2 separate regions of the Homo sapiens genome follow, and region 1 is linked to region 2. Evidence: promoter capture Hi-C in 16 types of primary human blood cells and fetal thymus (Javierre and others, 2016). All regions are on one chromosome and are shown on one strand. Each heading gives the region's core, a stretch centred on a gene start or on the middle of the fragment in contact. The rest is flanking DNA. Distances are from core to core; before and after follow the strand shown.

The links. Contacts are between HindIII fragments. The CHiCAGO score rates a contact against its expected background, and 5 or more counts as called.
Region 1: a contact is called between a fragment that was not itself captured here and the fragment with the promoter of CNFN in region 2, in 2 of 17 cell types (neutrophils and erythroblasts). The highest score is 5.9, in neutrophils.

The regions. Positions count from the first base shown.
Region 1 is chr19:42,178,420-42,182,618 of GRCh38, forward strand. It overlaps a transcript of POU2F2 not described here. Among named protein-coding and RNA genes, the nearest start is that of POU2F2-AS2, 28 kb to the left of the region's middle. The HindIII fragment of the contact is 7,957 bases long and covers 1-4,199 here.
Region 2 is chr19:42,388,602-42,393,391 of GRCh38, forward strand. It overlaps CNFN (cornifelin), which reads right to left and starts at 1,696. Exons shown (of 4, transcript NM_032488.4): 1 at 1,639-1,696; 2 at 325-438. The coding sequence starts at 436. The HindIII fragment of the contact is 9,287 bases long and covers 1-4,790 here.

The DNA of each region.
Region 1 (4,199 bases), core at 1,225-3,724, 210 kb before region 2:
AGAGACAAATGAAGATGTAAGGCAGTGTTGCAGAGATACAGAGATAGGAAGACATAGAGACAGAGGCAGACACACACAGAGGTAAGAGATATAGACCTGCGGAAACAGACAGAGATTAAGAAAGAGCCGTTGAAAGAGCCGTTGAAAGAGACAGAGAAACAGAGATGGAGAGATGCAAAGCCAGAAAGACAGACATTGACAGAGACCAAAAGATACAGAGACTGAGACTGAGACAGAGAAAAAGGCACAGAGAGAGTCAAACAAGGAGACAGAGTCAAACAAGAAGGTGTAGACAGAAACACAGAGAAATATACATAGGGATTCTGAGAGAGAACCTAAGAAACAGAGACAGAAAGAAATGTGCAAAGAGAGAAACAGAGATCAAGACATAAAAAGAGATGAAAAGAAATACAGAGATGGTGAGAGAAAGAAAGCAAAGACAGAGACCCAGAGAGTCAAAGTGAGGCAGAGAAATGCAGAGACATGGACAGAGACTGCAAGAAAGTGACAGGAACAGAGAAACCTCAGGAGACACACAGAGAGACACAGTGAGATGGAGAAAGGCACTGGAAGAGGCTTTCAGTTGGACAGAGATCCACAGAGAGATGCGAGACAGAGACAAGAAGAGACAAATGGAGAGTCAGAAATAGAGAATGAGGTCTGGTAGACAAGGCTGGGGATGGGGGGCAGAGACAGAGCCCAGGTAAAGGAGGAAGGGACAGGCTGGGGTGAAAGCAGAAAGTAGGAAGGTGACAAGAGGGTCCAGGGAAGCACCAAGGGGGAAAGGGCAGACAGGAGGGGAGGGAAGAACAGCAGAAAGGAGAGGAGTGGGGAAGGGAGAGGAGGGGAAGAAAGAGAGGAGGGCAGTGCCCAGTCACCAAGCACCTCCCCTGTGCCAGGCACATTATGGCTTGGAGACAGGGAGGAAGGAAAGGAAGGCCAAGGGTGAAGGGGCTCCGACCAGGGGAAGGTGGGCACAGGGTCTTGGGAGGGTGCATGGCTCCCGCCCCCTGCAGGCGGGGGTGCAGTGGTGCAAAGAGGAGGATAGGGTTGCAAGTGGTACCCAGACCTGGGAGGGGGTGTGAGAGGGAGGGAACAGGAGGGGGAAGGCAGGGAGGGAAAGGGAGGAGGAGGAGGAGGACGCAGGCACGCGCTGCGCGGTCTTGGCTTAGCAGCTGCAACCGCCCTTCGCTTTGTTACCAGCAAGGCTACCCCATGCATACTGAGTGGACACGCGGGACCCTCATGTGTGTGTGAGAAACACGAGAATCACCAACTGCCCACGTGTATGGAGAACGCTCCCAAGACCTACACTGGAAGTGCGTAACATAAATAAATATAGGAAACACCTACCCCGTGGGCGTACAAAGTAAGTACCCAGGACCTGTGCAGCGTGTGCATAATAGACACAGAACTACCTACTACTCCCTGTACGGAGCAGCCTCCTGGGACCCGCACTGTGTGCGCAACACAAATAAATGCAAGGAATACTACCCTCTGTCCATACAAAGTAGGTATTTGGGTCTTATGCAGCAGATGCATAATGGACATGGGACCACTTAATACCCCCATACAGAGCAGACTCCTGGGATCCACACAGTGTGTTCACAACACAAATAAATACAGGAAACGCCCACTCCAACTGCACACAAACTAGGCACATGGGCCTACAGGGCATGAACATAGTGGACACGGAACCACCCCATAGCCACCTACCAACCAGCCTCCCTGGGACCCATACTGTGTGGGCACAACATAAATGAATGCAGGAAGTACCCTATCCCCCATGCCTACAAAGCTGGCACACCAACCTAATAGACTTAGCTAGTGTGAACATAAGAGACACCCATGAGCAGGTTCTGGTGATCCACAAAGGCACATAACAAAACTGAACATAAGAAACACCCACTCCGCTTGCATACAAAGGCACATGGGGTCCCAATAGTGAGGAGAGAACTCAAAAAAGGGTGTATATAATGACAACCCACACACTATCCATTCTGGAAGGAGCAACAAGGAATACTGGACCCTGCAATGAATCTACCCAGCAGACTCCCAGGTCCCTCCATCTGTACGTGTACAATAGACCTAGGAGGAGCTATGGACAGCCTGAGTACCTACTAGAAGGGAAGCAGGGACAGGGCAGAGACCAAGGATGTCCTGTTCCCTGCCTTGGCCCTGGCACCTACAAGGACCAGTACATGGGTGGGGTGGGGGGCGGTCATCCTTCCTAAGAATGACCAAGTACATAATAATTGTGTATACAGTGAGTATACACTAAGCACACAGCACCAATGTTTGTCTGTTTGTTTGTTTGTTTGTTTTGAGACAGGGTCTCCCTCTGTCACCCAGGCTGGAGTGCCGCAGCGTGATCATGGCTCACTGTAGCCTCAAACTCCTGGGCTCAAGCAATCCCCTCTTGCCTCAGCCTCCCAAGTAGCTGGGACTACAGGCATGCACCACCACACCCATCTATTTTTTTTTTTTTTAAGCAGAGATGAGGTCTCCATATGTTCCCCAGGCTAAAGCACCAATTTTAAGGATCCAAAAAACTTGGTTTGATATGTGCTAAGTCCATATCATATGCTTACTTGCCAGTATGTTAAGAGTCTGTGGTCCACAACCTATGCATGATTGGTATCTTAATTATCCAGAATATCCATATTAAGCAGAAGCTGACATCCCTCATGGACTTACAAAAGTCAGATCCAATAGGAGACTTAAGCAATCCGCACATGCAGGTTGTCCTAACTGATTTCTAGGGCTCCGCCCAGCCCCGAGTCATGATTCCACGAAGGCTGATGCAGCACATGTATACACACCAGGCACATGCAAAGACGTACACCATACACTGTACACAACACAGCAAAAACATGTGTGCTCTCTCTGCTTCTGAAATAGCATAATTCCAGAAGTACCAGATTCCTCTGAGGAATGTGTGTGTGTGCATGTCTGAGTGAGGGCCATCTCTGGGTACAGGTGTGCATGTACATGGCTCTTCCTGTACGAATGAGCTCAGCTCTTATTCCCTCCTCATTCTGCCTGTTCATCTTTCAGAAACATGTATACAAATAATAGTACCTGATGTATACTAAGTACAAAACATTGCAAGCTATGGATGACCTTAATTGAGTGTGTGCGTCTGAACATACATTTATTTATTTATTTATTTATTTATTTATTTAGAGACAGAGCCTTGCTTTGTCACTCAGGCTGGACTGCAGTGGCACAATCTCGGCTCTCTGCAACCTCTGCCTCCCGGGTTCAAGCTATTCTCCTGCCTCAGCCTCCCGAGTAGCTGGGATTACAGGCGCATGCCACCATGCCCAGCTAATTTTTGTATTTTTTAGTAGAGACGGGGTTTCACCATGTTGGTCAAGCTGGACTCAAACTCCTGACCTGGTGGTCCACCCACCTCGGCCTCCCAAAGTGCTGGGATTACAGGCGTGAGCCAACACTCCCGGCCTTGAACATACCTTTAGATAGATGCATTTGTTCATTAATGAAACATTTGTTCGCGCATCTGTGGCCATGTGTGTGCGTGTGTGTACATCTTGGTGTCTTGGTTACAAGTCTTGGGGCTCCCTTATAATCTCTGAGGATAAAGGGTGTAAGATAAGGGAAACGAAGGCACACAAAGCAGGAAGGGAAGAAACTGGGGAGAAGGAAAAAAGTGGTGCAAGGACAAGGAGCAAAAAGAAGAGACCTGTTATTCAGGAGGCTGAGGCACAAGAATCACTTGAACTCAGGAGGCAGAGGTTGCAGTAAGCCAAGATTGTTCCACTGCACTGCCCTGGGCGATAGAGCAAGACTCTGTCTCAAAAGAGAGAGAGAGAGAGAGAGAGAGAGAGAGAGAGAGAGACCTGGAACTGGAACTGGATGTATGGAAGGAAGGGAGGAGGCCCTGAGGACACAGGCAGAGGGAGATGTGGTGCGGGAGCAAGGAAGAGAACAAGGACAGGAGGAGAATGGGTGTGAGAGAAAAGAGGAAGCTAGGAGGAGGAAGGGAGGTGAATGGTGAGCAGAGCAGAGTGAGGGTATCAGGAAGAGTGAAGGGGACTGGGGAGAGGAGAAAGGAGATGGGAGAAGGAGATAAAGACCGAAGGGAAAGAAATAAGAAACAGACAGAGGCTTTTCTGGTCTGAATGAAATTTAGAGGTTGCCCCAGTGGCCTCCTATGGGAAGGTGTTCGAGTCGGA
Region 2 (4,790 bases), core at 446-2,945:
GGATTACAGGCATGAGCCACTGCACTGGGCCAGGAGCTAGGGTTTGAAGAGGGAGTTGGGGGTCACAGTGAGGAAAGCTGAGCATGCAAAGGGGAGGTTGAGGGCCTGATAAGTTGAGTGTGGGAAGGCATGAGGTAGTATCCTAAGGAGTGTTGGGGGTCTGAGGAAAGGGTGACTGTTAGAGTGGGAATTCCAAGTCCAGGGAAGGGAGGTGGGAGTGGGGTTAGCAAGCGGTGGGAGGAGGTTGGAGGTGAGCTTCCCTCTCCTGATTCCCCCCAAACCCATCTTCCACCAGGCCTGGAGAGGGAGCAGGCAGGCACTCACAGACAGGCATGTCGTTGCAGCAGTCCGTGAGACCTGTGTGCCAGTCACTGAGCTGGGTCTGGTAGCAGCTGGTGGTGGCGCACTGGGGCTGACTGGTCACAGGGTAGGACATAGCTGCAGAGGTGGGAGGGTAGGGGTCAGCTGGCAGCCTCGCAGCATCTCCTGGGCCCCGCACTTCGGCCACCCTTCCCTGTGCCGGGCAGTCTGGGCGGGGCCGCCAGGCCGCCCACTGAAGGGACACCACTGTGCCTCCCCCTTCCCTTCTGCTACATCTGGGCACCGGCAACCCCAGTCTGTCCCTGTTGCTGCTGGCTCCTGCACGTCTGGTTAGGCTGGGGGTGGGGGTCTCCTGCACATCTGAGGAAGGGTGGGGACCACATCTGGGTGGGGCCTGGCGGTGCCGCCTCCTCCTCCACGTCTGGGCCTGGGTTCTGGGTTGCAGCATTTCTGGGGCCTCTGGGGTGGAAGCAGGCGCCGTCTGTCTTCGAAGCAAGGGTGCCCAGGGGAGGGAGGCGGCCAGGTTCCAGTACTGAGAGGGTTGCTGGTCCACCCAGCGGTCCCACCTTTGCCTTTCACGTTGTCGTGCATCTCAAACTGCATCTTGCTGGCCCTGAGGAGGTGGCGTTGGGGACGGCAGAAGTGGCTGTGGCAACAGTGGCAGAGTCTGTCCAAGGGACGCTGGATACTGGGGAGGTGGGGGCAAGGGACTGGGGCACTGGGGGCTGGGCTCTCAGGGGGAGGGGAGCTGGGGAGAAAGAGGCCAAGTCAGCCTGTCAACCAGGAGAGACATGGAATAGGGAATGGATAGGGCGGGGGCGAGAAACTCGCCCATGTCTTTCCAACTGCCCGACAGATTGCAGAGGACCCTCCCCATACCCGAGATAGAGCTTGAGGGAGAACAAGAAATGGAGATGGACAGAGTCAGAGACAAGGGGAGAAAGATCAGAGCCAGGTGCCCGTAGAGATGTCACCAGTAATGCCCACATGTGCCCAGCACTTTGACTCCTCTGCAAGCCCATCTCACAGATGAGCACTGAGGCTCAGAGACATGAGGAGGAACGCCCCACGTCTGACGGCCCAGGCCAAGGGGGTTCATAGAGGTGATGCTGGGCCCCAAGACTTCTAAATTCAGCTCAGCACACCCCAGTTAAGAAGGACAGATTTGGGGGCATTGGGAAGGACAGAGATGTCCCGAGAGACCGACAATCAGCGATATGAAAGGAGACAGAGTGATATGAGTGGGATGAGGAGGAGGGAGAACAGAGCAGAGGCGCCCAACCTCAAAGAAGAGGGCTGCGGAGGGGATGTTCCTACCTGCAGGATCGCGATGGCAGTGATGGAGGCAGACGTGTGGAGACACGGGCACTGACTTCTCCGTCTCAGCCCAGAGCCACTTATATGGGCGGCCACGCAGCCCTGGGCGGGGCTCTGACAGAGGTGCCCAGGGAGCCAAGCCGGTCTGATCGACCCTCTCCCCACACTGGGATTTCCCGCCCTCCCTCTCCACTCCCATCCCCCCACTTCTCCTCCTGCCTCAGCTCCCAGGACCCAGGGAAAAGAAGGTGGCGGGGGGTGGGAGGTTTGGCGGGGGCGGGGGGCCACAGCCGGGTCAATGCGCAGAGACCAAAAGAGAGGGAGAGACAGAAACACAGTGTCAGAAAGGCAGGCAGGGAAGTCCCTCTAGACAGAAAGGAGAGAGAGGAGATTCAGAGAGATGGAGAGACGCAGGAAGATGTAGAGAGATGGAGAGGTGCCAAGAAACAGAGGGGCACAAAAATGTGAAAAGAAATAACAAGAAGAGGGGAGATGGGCCAGGCATGGTGGCTCTCGCCTGTAATCCCAACCCTGTAATCGCCTGAGGTGAGAGGATCGCTTGAGCCCAGGAGTTGAAGACCAGCCTGGGCAACATAGGGATACCCCATCTCTACAAAAAATACAAATAGAATTAGCCGGGCATGGTGGCATGTGCCTGTAGTCCCAGCTACTTGAGAGGCTGAGGCAGGAGGATCGCTTGAGTCCAGAAGTTTGAGGCTGCAGTGAGCCGTGTTCCCGCCACTACACTCCGGCCTCAGTGACAGAGCAAGACCCTGTCTTAAAAAAAAAAAAGGAAAGAAAAGGGGAGATGGGAGACAGAAGAGAGACGGAGATGGAAAAGTGGAGAGGCAGGTGGGGGGATCACTGAACAGGCTTAGAGGGCAGGGAAATGGGGAGAGGTGATGGGTGGGGAGAGAAAAAGGCCGGGTGGAGTGGGAGAGAGTGCTGTGTGGGACTCCCCTTTCAGGGTCTCGCTCATCTCTCTCAGTGATATCCCCACTTTCCTGGGAGAGGGGGACAGTGTCCTCCCCATTCAAGCCAGGAGACACATGGGGGGCAGTGTGTTTTGGGGAATGACTCATGTTGGAACCAAAGTAAATAAACACACCTCACCCCAGCTCCAAATTGGGAAGGGAGGAGGCTGGGAACTGAAAAGCCGCAGTTCCTGAAGGACGTGGACGTCACCTGGGACTCCTGGGTCCTAATGGAGCAAAGGAGTGGGGGCTTGGACCCCTGGGTCTGAGGGAGGAGGGGCTGGGGCCCTGGACTCCTGCGTCTCATGAGGCCAGGCTGCACATCCCTCAGTAGGGTAGGGGTCCTGGGATTCCACACTGCTGGGCTCCTGAGCAGGGAAGGAGCTGGGGGTCTGGGTGCCTGAATCGCCAAAGTTTCCCCCCAACAGGCCTGACGGGGTTGGGAGGTGACTCAGTGAGGGAAGCAGCATTAGAGCTGGGTGGGGTTCTCAGCACGGGTGTCACCCCAAAAATGTAGGAGGCACTAGAAAACTGGGGTGTCACCTGCAGAGAAGGTGGTGTCATCACCCCGCCGGGTATGGGGTGATGGCAGGTGGATCACCCTGCTAGCTGGGATCCCAGGTGTCCCCTCCCTCCCTCCCTCCCTCCAACACATTAGGACCCAAGCCTTGGTCTCCCAGCACCACCCAGATGGTTGGGTCTTCCTGTCCCCAGAACTCCCGGCAGCGCTCACTGTCTTGCCGGTGCACGTCCGTCATTGGTCCTAGAGCCTGGATGTCTGGGGGACATCTCCTCACTTGTGTCCTAACATCCCTGTCTCCTCATCTCTGAATCTTCGTCTCTCACCCTGCATCTTCACCTTTCCAGCTGTGAATCTGTCTTTCTTTCCTCATCTCTGCAAATCTCTTTCCAAATCTCTGTCTCTCCATCTCTGGGTCCCTCTCCTTCCAGGCTCTGTGTCTCTGTGCCCTTATCCCGGGGTCTCTGTCTCCTATGTCAAAATCTCTTCTGAATCTCGCTTCCCATCTCTGTTCATCTCCAGACCTGCCCTGTGGAGGCAGCTACAGGGCCCCATCCCCCCTGCTGTCCAGACTAAGGGTGCAGGTGACTCAAGGTCAGTCATCTCCGAGGACCCCAGGGCTCCCAGCATGACACTCTGAGTTGTCCTCAAGTTTCCTCTCTCACTCCTGACACAGCCTGGGGGCCCCAATTAGATCTAGCAATTCATGCAGGTGAGGAAATAGAGACTGGGGAAGCTGTGAGGTGGCCTGCTTGGGGGTGAGGAGGGCCGTGAGCAGGAGGAGGAGCTCCTGGGGGGCTGAGGAGTGATGGTGGCCCAGTCACCAGGCATTGGCCTACATCCTCCTCAAACAGGGTTGCCACATAAAATACAGGCTGTCCTGTAAAATCTGAAATTCAGATAAGCAACAAACAGGTTTTTTAGCATGTTTCATGCAGTATTTGGGACATATTTATACTAAAAAAGTATTTGTTATTTATCTAAAATTCAAATTAAATTGGGCTTCCTATAGTTTTATTTGCTAAATCTGGAACCCTACCATCAAAGACAGAGGAGTTCAGGACTCCAGCCCCCTCTTTTCCCAGAACCTAGGAGTCCAGGCCCCAGCCTTCCCTCCTTAGGATCTGCGAGTCCAGGTCCTAATCCTCCTCCTCCCCCTTAGAAGGAATGGGGCACCCAACCCCCTCCTCCTTTGGAAATACAGGAGTCCAGGCTCCCAGCCCCTTTCTCCCCAGAACCCAGGCATCCAGACCAGGTCTCAGTCCAGTTGCCCAATGTGGGTCAGTCATCACTTTGGGTTTCACAAGGTGGGTTGTGCCATCTGTGGCCCTGGTGGAACCGGTCCGGCAGAGCGGACAAGTGGCGTGGTCCCCCTTCCCTTCCTCAACCTGCTGTTTCCTTGAAGGCCAGCCCAGCGGGGCTGGGAGCAGAACAGGAGGGACTTGGGGAGCTCTGGGTGTGCCCCTGTGTTTGGGTGTATTGTGTCTCTGTGTGTGGTTGTGACCAATTGTCATGACAACCCCCAACTGTCATGATGTGTCTCTGTGCTTTTTCTGTGGTCTGCGGTGTGATATGAGAGGGTCTCTTCTATTTGTGTGTCTGTATTGCCCTCCTGTGAGTCTACACACTGTGCACTGCTGTTTGGGTGTGTTTGCAGT